Linked DNA regions of Homo sapiens: region 1 is linked to region 2. Evidence: promoter capture Hi-C in 16 types of primary human blood cells and fetal thymus (Javierre and others, 2016). All regions are on one chromosome and are shown on one strand. The core of a region is centred on a gene start or on the middle of the fragment in contact, and the rest is flanking DNA. Distances in the headings are between cores, read along the strand shown.

The links. The method cuts DNA at HindIII sites, captures the fragments that hold promoters and counts their contacts. A CHiCAGO score of 5 or more calls a contact.
Region 1: a fragment that was not itself captured here is called in contact with the fragment with the promoter of TMIGD1 in region 2 in 1 of 17 cell types (neutrophils); the score reaches 6.1 in neutrophils.

The regions. Positions count from the first base shown.
Region 1 is chr17:30,430,485-30,435,248 of GRCh38, forward strand. It overlaps CPD (carboxypeptidase D), which reads left to right. Exons shown (of 21, transcript NM_001304.5): 8 at 1,288-1,397. Among named protein-coding and RNA genes, the nearest start is that of GOSR1, 45 kb to the right of the region's middle. The HindIII fragment of the contact is 1,266 bases long and covers 1,223-2,488 here.
Region 2 is chr17:30,331,045-30,336,314 of GRCh38, forward strand. TMIGD1 (transmembrane and immunoglobulin domain containing 1) reads right to left here and starts at 3,013. Exons shown (of 7, transcript NM_206832.3): 1 at 2,956-3,013; 2 at 1,008-1,114. The coding sequence starts at 1,089. The HindIII fragment of the contact is 5,890 bases long and covers 1-3,238 here.

The sequences.
Region 1 (4,764 bases), core at 606-3,105, 98 kb after region 2:
TGAATAATAGTACATTGTATATACATATGTATATATCAATATCACATTTGCTTTATCCATTTACGTACTGATGGACATTTGGGTTGTTTTGACTTTTTGACTACAATGAAAAATGCTTCTATGCCCATTGGCATTCAAATATCTATTTGAGTTCCTGTTTTCTTTTCCCCGTGCCCCCCTTGTTTTGAAACAGAGTCTCACTCTGTTACCCAGGCTGGAGTGTAAGTGGTGTGATCATGGCTCACTGCAGCCTCAAACTCCTGAGCTCAGGCAGTCCTCCCACCTCAGCCTCCCAAGTAGCTGGAACTGCAGGCATGCACCACCACACCTGGCTTATTTTTAATTTTTTGTAGAGACAGGGTCTCCCAGTGTTGCCCAGGCTGATCTTGAACTCTTGGGCTCAAGCAATCCACCTGCCTGCCTTGGCCTCCCAAAGTGCTGAGATTATAGGTGTGAACTACTGTACGCAGCCCCTGTATTCAGTTCTTTTGGGTGTACACTTAGGAGTGAAATTGTCATATGATAATTCCATGTTAAGCTTTTTGAGGAATTGCCAAACTGTTTTCCACAGAGGCTGGACTATTTTACATTCCCGCCAGCAATGTATGAGGTTCCAGTTTCTTCATATCCTCACCACCACTTATTATTTTCTATTTTTATTATTATAGCTGTCCTAGTGGGTGAGAAGTAGGACCTCATTTTGGTTTTGGTGTGCATTTCCACAATAACTAATGATGCCGAGGATCTTTTCATGAGCTTGTTGGCCATTTATCTATCTTCTTTGGAGAAATATCTGTTCAAGTCCTTTGTCCAATTTTTAATTGAGTTTTTGTCTTTGTTGTTAAGTTGTAAGAGTTTTTAAATACTGGACACTGGACCCTTATCAGGCTTGCAAAACATTTTCCCCCATTCTATAGGTTGTCTTTTCTCTTTCTTATGTTCTTGATGCATAAAAGTTTTTGATTTTGATGGAATCCCGTATATCTGTTTTTTTCTTTTGTTGCTAGTCCTTTCCGTATTGATGCTAATTATTTTTTTGAGGTAGACTGTTTGGTAGAAGTACTATAAATCTTTTTTTGTGGCTTTAGAAAATTAGCCATTTGAAAGATATCTTCTCACTTATTCACTTTGAATTGAAGAAATTAGTGTAATTTTCATTTCTGTTGAGGAAATTCTGCTTGGCAAATTTTATTGTTTTCTCTTCTCTGGCAGTATTCTGAAAAGCTTTATGTTAATAATCCATCTTGAAACAGACAACATGATACATTTTCCTCTTTTCCCTTATAGGTTCTTTGGTGGTTAACTACCCTTTTGATGATGATGAACAAGGACTTGCCACATATAGTAAATCACCAGATGATGCTGTGTTCCAACAAATAGCACTTTCTTATTCCAAGGTAGGCTTGTCTTTGAATATAAAATGTTACAAAATTAATTCTTTTATTTAAAAATATGCTTTAAAGTCCTGCAAGACTCAGGTCAAGTGCTTCCATAGTTAATAAAGCATGACTTTTTCAGCTGTTTCCGAAAAATAGCTTTTTCTCCTGTTTCCCACCTCACTTTTGAATACACTACATGTCTTTCTCCATTGGCCTTTTATCTATGGTTTTAGCACAGTACCTGGAACATATACATGTCAATTTATTTCATTTGACAAATAAGTTATAAGCCCAGTAAAGTAGGCCAAGATAAGGGCTTAATGAATTATAGCTCTGGAGCCAAATCTTGCCCACCACCTGTTTTTGTAAATAAAATTGTATTGACACACAGCCACAGCTATATTTTTATATATTGTGTGTGGCTGCTTTCTCCTTCAACATTTCAAAGTAAGTCAGTATAATTTACTATATTAACAAACTAAAGAAGGAAAATCCAGTGATCAAAGGGCAAAGTTGGGTAGTTTCAACAAAGACTTTTGCATCTAAAAAGTCTGAAATATTTGCTTTCTGGTTTTTTACAGGAAAAAATTGCCAAACTTTAGTCTAAGGTATTTAAGATCCTGTAGTTACATATAGCAAGGAAAAGCAGGCAGAAATTTCTGTATTTTCCAAACTTCCTATGATAAACATGGATTACTCTTACAATCGGGAATGTTAAAATGTGTGTGTGTGTGAAAATTTAATTTAAAAATCGTTCTTAGGACCAGGCTTGGTGGCTCATGCCTGAAATCGTAGCACTTTGGTAGGGCAAGGCAGGAGAATTGCTTGAGCTCTCAGGAGTTTGAGACCAGACTGGGCAACATAGCAAGAGCTTGCCTCTACTAAAAATAAAAAATAAAAAAAAAATTAGCCGGTTGTGGTGACATGCATTTGTTGTTCCAGCTACTTAGGAGGCTGAGGTGGGAGGATTGCTCTATCCCAGGAGATTGAGGTTGAAGTGAGCTTGATCACAATACTATACTCTAGCCTGGGTGACAAAGCTGAGACCCTGTCTCAAAAAAATAAAAATTGTCTTAGAAAACATGTTAAAAGTTGAGGCTTGTAAACTAAGCTTGTTAGTTTCAATGTTTGGTGTTACTACTGACTTAGTATTGTTATTGGTTATATTGGTACTATTATTGGTTATAGGTAATGAATATTATTACTGTAACTCTGCACTCTCCAGTCACAGTCCTCCATCCTTCCACTTTTCCCATTCCCTCATCCTCTGCAAATGAATCTTGTGAGATTGTTCAGAGTTTCTACTAGAGGAGTACAGCTGTTCATTTCACCTTAGAGAATTATTGCTTTCTGTTTGGACATATATGTTTTTTTGAAGTACATACGTGGAGTAATAAGAGAATGTATAGTGTCCCAACCATCAAAATAAAAATTAAATGGCTGGATTTTGCATATTTTCTCATCACATTCTATGCTCATTCTCATGATTTCTGCTTTTCGCCTTCATTTTGGCTTCTAGTTCCTTATCTTCTCTTTGTTTTCTTAGACCATTAACCCTTTTGATTTGATTTACCTTTCTCTGTAGGGTAGACCCATGGACATACCTTTTCAATGATTCTCCTAAGGGTCTTGTACACCCCTTTGACATAACTGCTTTGCCCTCCAGTCCTCAGTAATTACCATTATCTCTTTTCTCCATACCAATATTACAAGTACAGCCTAGAGTGGTCACACTGTCACGGCAATTTGCTATAGTCCATATGTGTGCTCTCCAACTTCAGCTGAACCCTCAGTCCTACATGGCAACATTTCCTGTTTAGCTACTTGACTCCCTGGCTCAGTTCCCACTATGGTGATTCAGAGCCTTTATCCTCTATCTGAGCCTCCTGTTCCAGCTCTATCCCTCTTATTCATAGTAGATCACTTTGCATTGAACTCAAGTAGAACTTTGAGTAATCTGATGTGAGTTCACTAAGATTCTGTCTTCTCAATTGTTTCTCATGTGTGTCTTAACAATATTCTCCTCCATTTCTTGATCCCACTGCATTCTGCCTCCTCGAATCTTGTGTCTTCATATCTTATTTTATAAATGAGGAAGGTGATAATTAAACTCCCCAGTCTTCACTCACAGCCTTTTTTCTCTTGGTCAATAAGCAGCTCCTCTAAAAATATTGTCTTCTGCTAACCTTAGTAAGCCCCCATGAAGCTACCATTCAAAGTTTCTTTATTTTTACTCTTCAAAACTTCTCAAAAGTAGATAGTCTTGGGAGACATCTGAGCAGCCAAAGACAATGATGGCTATGTGATAACCTATCTCCCAGGGTTTTTCTTTAAACAATATAAAACGACTTAAAAACTACCAAATTTTACACAAAACCACACTGTTGGCATCACAAAAGATCCTGAAACTGCAAAATAACTGTAAATTTTTTAAAAATCAAGAAGTCTCAGCATGATCTATCATGCACCTACCCCACCTTCGCCCCACCACAAGGCTTTGTGGTGAGGTAAAACAGACCAAGAAAACTTACGGAGAAGACAGAAGTGGGTGCCAGTGAAGGGCAGCTGTGAAGGTAATTTGGAATGACCACCATACATCACATATGCACTAAATCCAAAAATACTAAAAGAGTAACTGGGCAGATTAGAGCTCTGGAATACAGGGAAGAGATTTCAAAATGCACACAACTTAAAGGATCTGGTGTGATTTAATGGGATAAGTACAATTTAAAAGGAGAGGATGGTTACAGGGAGATCTTCCAAACTCATAGCTTCTGGAGAAGGAAAAAAAGAGGCAAAGATAGAAATGAAGAAGTGCTCCTTGGCAATTAGATGGTGAATGGGAAAAGGAAAAAGTGGGGAGAAATGTAAGGTTTTACAAGACAGAAAAGAACTTTAAAATCAGAAGATTCTCAGCTCCACCCTTACCACCAAGACAAATAAATAACCACACTGAGGTACCTGGATTTTGCTAGACCGACAGAAAAGTGTACCATTAAGCTAGGAATAATATTAAATGCCCAATATCATAAAAATAAAGAGGAAAATAAAGTCCATGGAAAATGATTGCAGAAAATTAGGAAATGAAACTTCACATATAGACACTAAGGAGACCCTACCATTAGCAAAAAATAATCGAGAAGCAGAAGAAAACTGTTCAGTTGGCATTCTAAACAGATTAAGTATACCCAAATATACGTTGAGAATATGAGAAACTACCTCAACTCAGATAGTCAAAAAATAAAAACAGAGGCCAGGAAACAAAAAACAGGGATAAATAAAATAAAGTTTATAGGACTCAGGAAAAAAATGGAAGAAAAAGACAAAATTATCTCTGAAATGAAGAATAAATGACAAAAGTTAGGGAACTCATACATCCAATTTC
Region 2 (5,270 bases), core at 1,763-4,262:
ATTAGCCAGGCATGGTGGCGGGCTCCTGTAATCCCAGCTACTCGGGAGGCTGAGGCAGGAGAATCACTTGAACCTGGGAGATGAAGGTTGCAGTGAGCCAAGATCACACCACTGCACTCCAGCCTGGGCAACAAAGTGAGACTTCTTCTCAAAAAAGCAAAAAACTTAAGCTACTTGTAAAGATAATGGTATTGTTGTCTAGTATTTTATTAAAATATGGAATATTGAGTGGTTGTCATCTCTGGATGAAAGTATTTGGGGGGATTTGTACTTTTCTTTTTTTTTTTATAGATTGCCTGATTTATTTTACAATGACTATGCATTACTTTTAAAATCAGAAAAGAGTGGTAGGAGAGCAAATGCTGGAAAGATTTTCATGTGAAATGGTATGTTCAGATAAACAGATGATTATTTGGGGTAACATTAGTAATAAAATGCATTAAAATGTAGGAGGATTCTGGTGGTGGCTCTGGAGAGAATAGAATACTTCACCTTGTCTTGTAATAATAAAACCCTAAAAACAATATTTTTCCATTTGATTTTTTTTTTTTTTTTTTTGAGACGGAGTCTCGCCCTGTCGCCCAGGCTGGAGTACAGTGACGTAATCTCGGCTCACTCACTGCAAGCTCCACCTCCTGGGTTCACGCCATTCTCCTGCCTCAGCCACCCGAGTAGCTGGAACTACAGGCGCCTGCCAGCACACCAGGCTAATTTTTTGTATTTTTAGTAGAGATGGGGTTTCACCGTGTTAGCCAGGATGGTCTCGATCTCCTGACCTCATGATTCACCTGCCTCGGCCTCCCAAAGTGTTGGGATTACAGGCGTGAGCCACCCGCCTGGCCTCCATTTGATTTTTTATTGTTAGTTGACTCCTGTACTGTGAGCCATGCTAACTGTGTAGTCATTCCAATTTGGAATTTAAGGATATATCCAATGCCCATTGATCACTTTTCTTAATCGGAAATTTTTCTTTATCTAAAAAGAGGCCAAAAAGAACTTTAACTTACTTGTCATCTCACGTGGCAGAAATAAAATTACTAAGAGAAGAAATCTTCCCATTTGCATTATGACACTGCTCTTCCATGCCATCTTTAATGAGTTAAACTCAGATCTACTAAGGGAAAAATAGTGCAGTTGGTTTTGTACTTTGGTCTGCAATGAGTTCGTGAACCTTCCTTCTGTCTATTATGCATTTAAAGTGAAGTCCCAGATGAATCATCCCAGCTATAACGGTACTACTTCTAGCTTTTAATTAAACAACCCTGTCTGACTAAGTTCAAAGTACATTTAGTAGTAAGAAATTTTTTTTAAAAGCAACATAAAACCACAGGAAATAGGCTATGACAGATAGAGCAGCGTCAGGGTGCCCTGGGGAAGATGAAACCAGTCTTCCCTAGAGAAACTGATAGAATTTCATTTTAGCAGAATGAAACTTGTCTCATTCTCAGACAGTCCCTACTGAACAAAGTAATTCTTGTTCTGAAAGTTTTTCTTGGGTCATTTTTGTAAAGATGTTCTCTGATAATAGAGAGTTTTTGAGACTACTCCAAATCCCATAGATTCAAATGGTGTGTACGTAGAAAAGCCTCAATTGAAACATGGCCTCTAGTTTAAACCATGTTAATCTTGTCTTTCTCCCACTATTCTCTCTCTCTCTTCCCCTTGACCCAATGGACTAAAAATAATAAATAATAAAGGTGTCCTTTCTCCCTTCTTGCTTTTGCTTCAACTCTCCCTCTCCCTAAGATATTCTCCATTTCCATCTGGGAAAAAAACATATATTCATTACTTCCTTTCAAGAGTACTACTATAAATATAGCGAACCACATACGGAAAACTTTCTGCGCAACAGGGACTGTGCTAAACACTTTACATACATCATTTCAGTCACAATTAAGCCTCCTAACAACCCTCCTGAGGTCGTTTCTATAGATTTAAAGAGACTATGTAATTTGCCTGAGATCCCACAGACAGTAAATGTCAAGGTCGGGATTTGAACCCAGACTCCCAAGACCATGCTCTTAACCACCCTACTCTCAACCACCCTACTACCCAATCTACTGCCTAGATTAATATTCTTTTCCTTTAAGAAGCTGCTGTTAGGCTGGGTGCAGTGGCTCATGCCTGTAATCCCAGCACTTTAGGAGCTGAGGCAGGTGGATTACCTGAGGTCAGGAGTTTGAGACTAGCCTGACCAACATAGTGAAACCCCATCTCTACTAAAAATGCAAAAAAAAAAAAAAAAAATTAGCCAGGCATGGTGGCGAGCGCCTGTAATCCCAGCTACTCGGGAGGCTGAGGCAGGAGAATTGCTTGAACCTGGGAGGTGGAGGTTGCAGTGAGCCAAGATTATGCCACTGCACTCCAGCCTGGGCGACAGAGTGAGGCTCGGTCTCAAAAAATAAAAATAAAAAATAAAAAAATAAAAAAAAGCTGCTGTTAATCTTTTCCAGTCCCTGGCCACTGGGAGTTCTCTCCCCTTAACACCAGTATTAATTTACAAGAGCTGAAATATACCTATACCTACTCTACTCCTCCCCTGTCCCAGGCGTGCCCTGACAGGAGTAAGTTTCATTCATGCCAGGCTCACCCTTTCTGGCAGACAAGCCTGCATCAATCTTTTCGTAAGATGCAATTACTACTAATATTGATTCTTTTGTAATTTTAAATATTTGCCAAAAAGATTTCTATCACAGTGTTGTAACAGTGATTACTGCAGAATGTGGTCAATAGTAGAGTTTTCTCAAGCGCTCTGCACTACAAGTACTCAATAAAAACTGAGAGTGCAGGCTTCTTGCCAGACCTCACCCAGCCCTATTAAGGGGACAAATCTATGTCTTCTCTTTCCCTCCACTCCACCGAGACAGCAACTTTTCAAAATGTATTCCCCTCACTTGGCTTGTTTTTAATCTGTATGACTCTCTACTTTCTATATAAGACAGTCTTACCACTTACCTCTTGAGCTCTGAGAAGCTGACTTCCTTGGCCAACTGTTCCTCTGCCTGAAAACCCTAAATGCTTTCCCTGTTACAATCCTTTATAATACTTGAATTTGAACGCTTTATGACAGCAGGGTCAAATAAATAAGATAACTTGGGTTCAAAGTCTGTTTTTCTTTATGGAGTCTTAGAGAAGATAGTAATTGGGAAAGACATCTTCTTAAGATCTAAGTTTCTATGTCTACCTCGGTTACTAGGTGGGGCCGGATATTACTAACAGGGATGTGTTGTTCCAAGAAAGCTTGAACTTGTGCAAAAATCTGTAGCGCATCTCACTGAATATTGTCATATTTAAGTAAGATGGCTGCGTTTTGATCATCTAGCCTGGGGATTGTGAAGGGACGAGTCCAAAGAGAAGTTTGACTTTAACAGAGGTCAAAACATTGGAAGATTCTACACAACTTAAATAATGCTGGAAAAGTCTTAGTTACCACTAGTAACCCAAGCCCAGTGCATAAGCTGTACCAAGCCAGGCATGGCAGGGAGCCGTTTTTTTGTTGTTGTTGTTTGTTTTGTTTTTTGAGGCAGGGTTTCACTCTGTCACCCAGATTGGAATGCAATGGCACAATTGTGGCTGACTGAACCTCTGCTCCCAGCCTCCCAAGGAGCTAGGACTACTGGCGTGAGTCACCATGCCCAGCTAAACTTTGTTAATATATATATTTTTGGTAGAGATGAAATTTCGCCATGTTTCCTAGGCTGGTCTCTAACTCCCGGCCTTAAGCAATCTGCCCACCTTGGCCTAGGGAACAGTTTTATCCTCTTGAGGCTCTCACCTGATTGGGAGATCCTTGCATTACACTATGTTTATGGTATTGTTAACGATGCAAATTTTATCTGCCAAGTACTATTGTTCCCATTTACACAAAAATATAACAGAAGAATATTTATAGTTATCTACACATTTTAACACACTGCTGAAGCACACCAGCAATCTGCCTCTTACTAGCTATGTAACTTTGAAAAGTTATTTAACCTCCATGAGCCTCAGGATCTTCATCAATACAATGGAAATAGTAATAGTACCCTCCCTACGGAGTCACTGTGAGGATTAAATGAAATGAAGCATGTGAATCTGCCGCACAGTAAGCTCTTGGTAAACAGTAGCTCTTATTACTATTATTATTAATATAGGCTGAGCAGGGCATCCTAAATCAACACAACCTCACTATAGCATTGTTCAAGCAAAAATCAGAGCTAAGAGCAGCTCCTGTTGGCTGGGTTGCAAGCACCACCCAAACAGGTTTTGAGTTTGCCTCTCCAGGGATCCAAGATTGTCATTTTAAAATGAATTTAGCAATGGAGTGATGTTTTGGTTCTTGGTGCCTCCAAAATAGACCCTGAGACAGAGCTTTGAGTGCCAATAGTTTATTTAAAGGTGATCTCGGCCGGGCACGGTGAGTGGCTCACTCCCTTAATCCCAGCACTTTGGGAGGCCGAGGAGGGTGGATCATTTGAGGTCAGGAGTTCGAGACCAGCCTGGCCAATGTGATGAAACCCCGTCTCTACTAAAAATAGAAAAATTAGCCAGGCATGGTGGCGGGCGCCTGTAATCCCAGCTACTTGGGAGGCTGAGGTGGAAGAATCCCTTGAGGCTGGGAGGTGGAGGTTGTGTTGAGCCAAGATTGGACCACTGCATTCCAATCTGGGCGAGAGAGTGAGACCCTTCCTCAAAAAAAAAAAAAAAAAAAAGTGATCTCAGGAAGCATAGTAAGGAAGTAAGATAGGGAAGGGAGGAAACTAGTAAAGAATGTGTTAAAGATTACTACCGTGAGCAACTATATCCCTGGAGCTTTGGACAAGTTGTATTCTGTGCAGCATACCTCAGAATCAACTACTGATAGGGAAGGAAGCAACTTCTCTCCATCTCCGGCTGAGGGACACTCTCAAGGTGTTGACTCTCTGGCACTTTCAGCCTGCCCTGTGAGGGCAAAGTGTACTCTCTCAAGCTGGCCAACATGTCCAGGAAAAGATGCTCAGGAAGTCACTGGCTATATGGGAACTCTTTGCAGGTAACTTCTGGGTAGGCCAAGGATGTGTGAGTAGAGCACCACCAGCAACTTCTACAATTGGATATTAGGTGATATTAGGAAATAATGATTAATTATTATTAGTTGTGATCATGGTATTGCAGTTATGTAGAGAATGTTCTAATTCTCAAGGGATGCCTGCTGAAATATTTATGGGTCAAGTGTCATGATAATTGCAACTACCTTTCAAATGATTCAGCAAGAAAAGTAAACACATAAACACACAGCAAATATAGCAAAT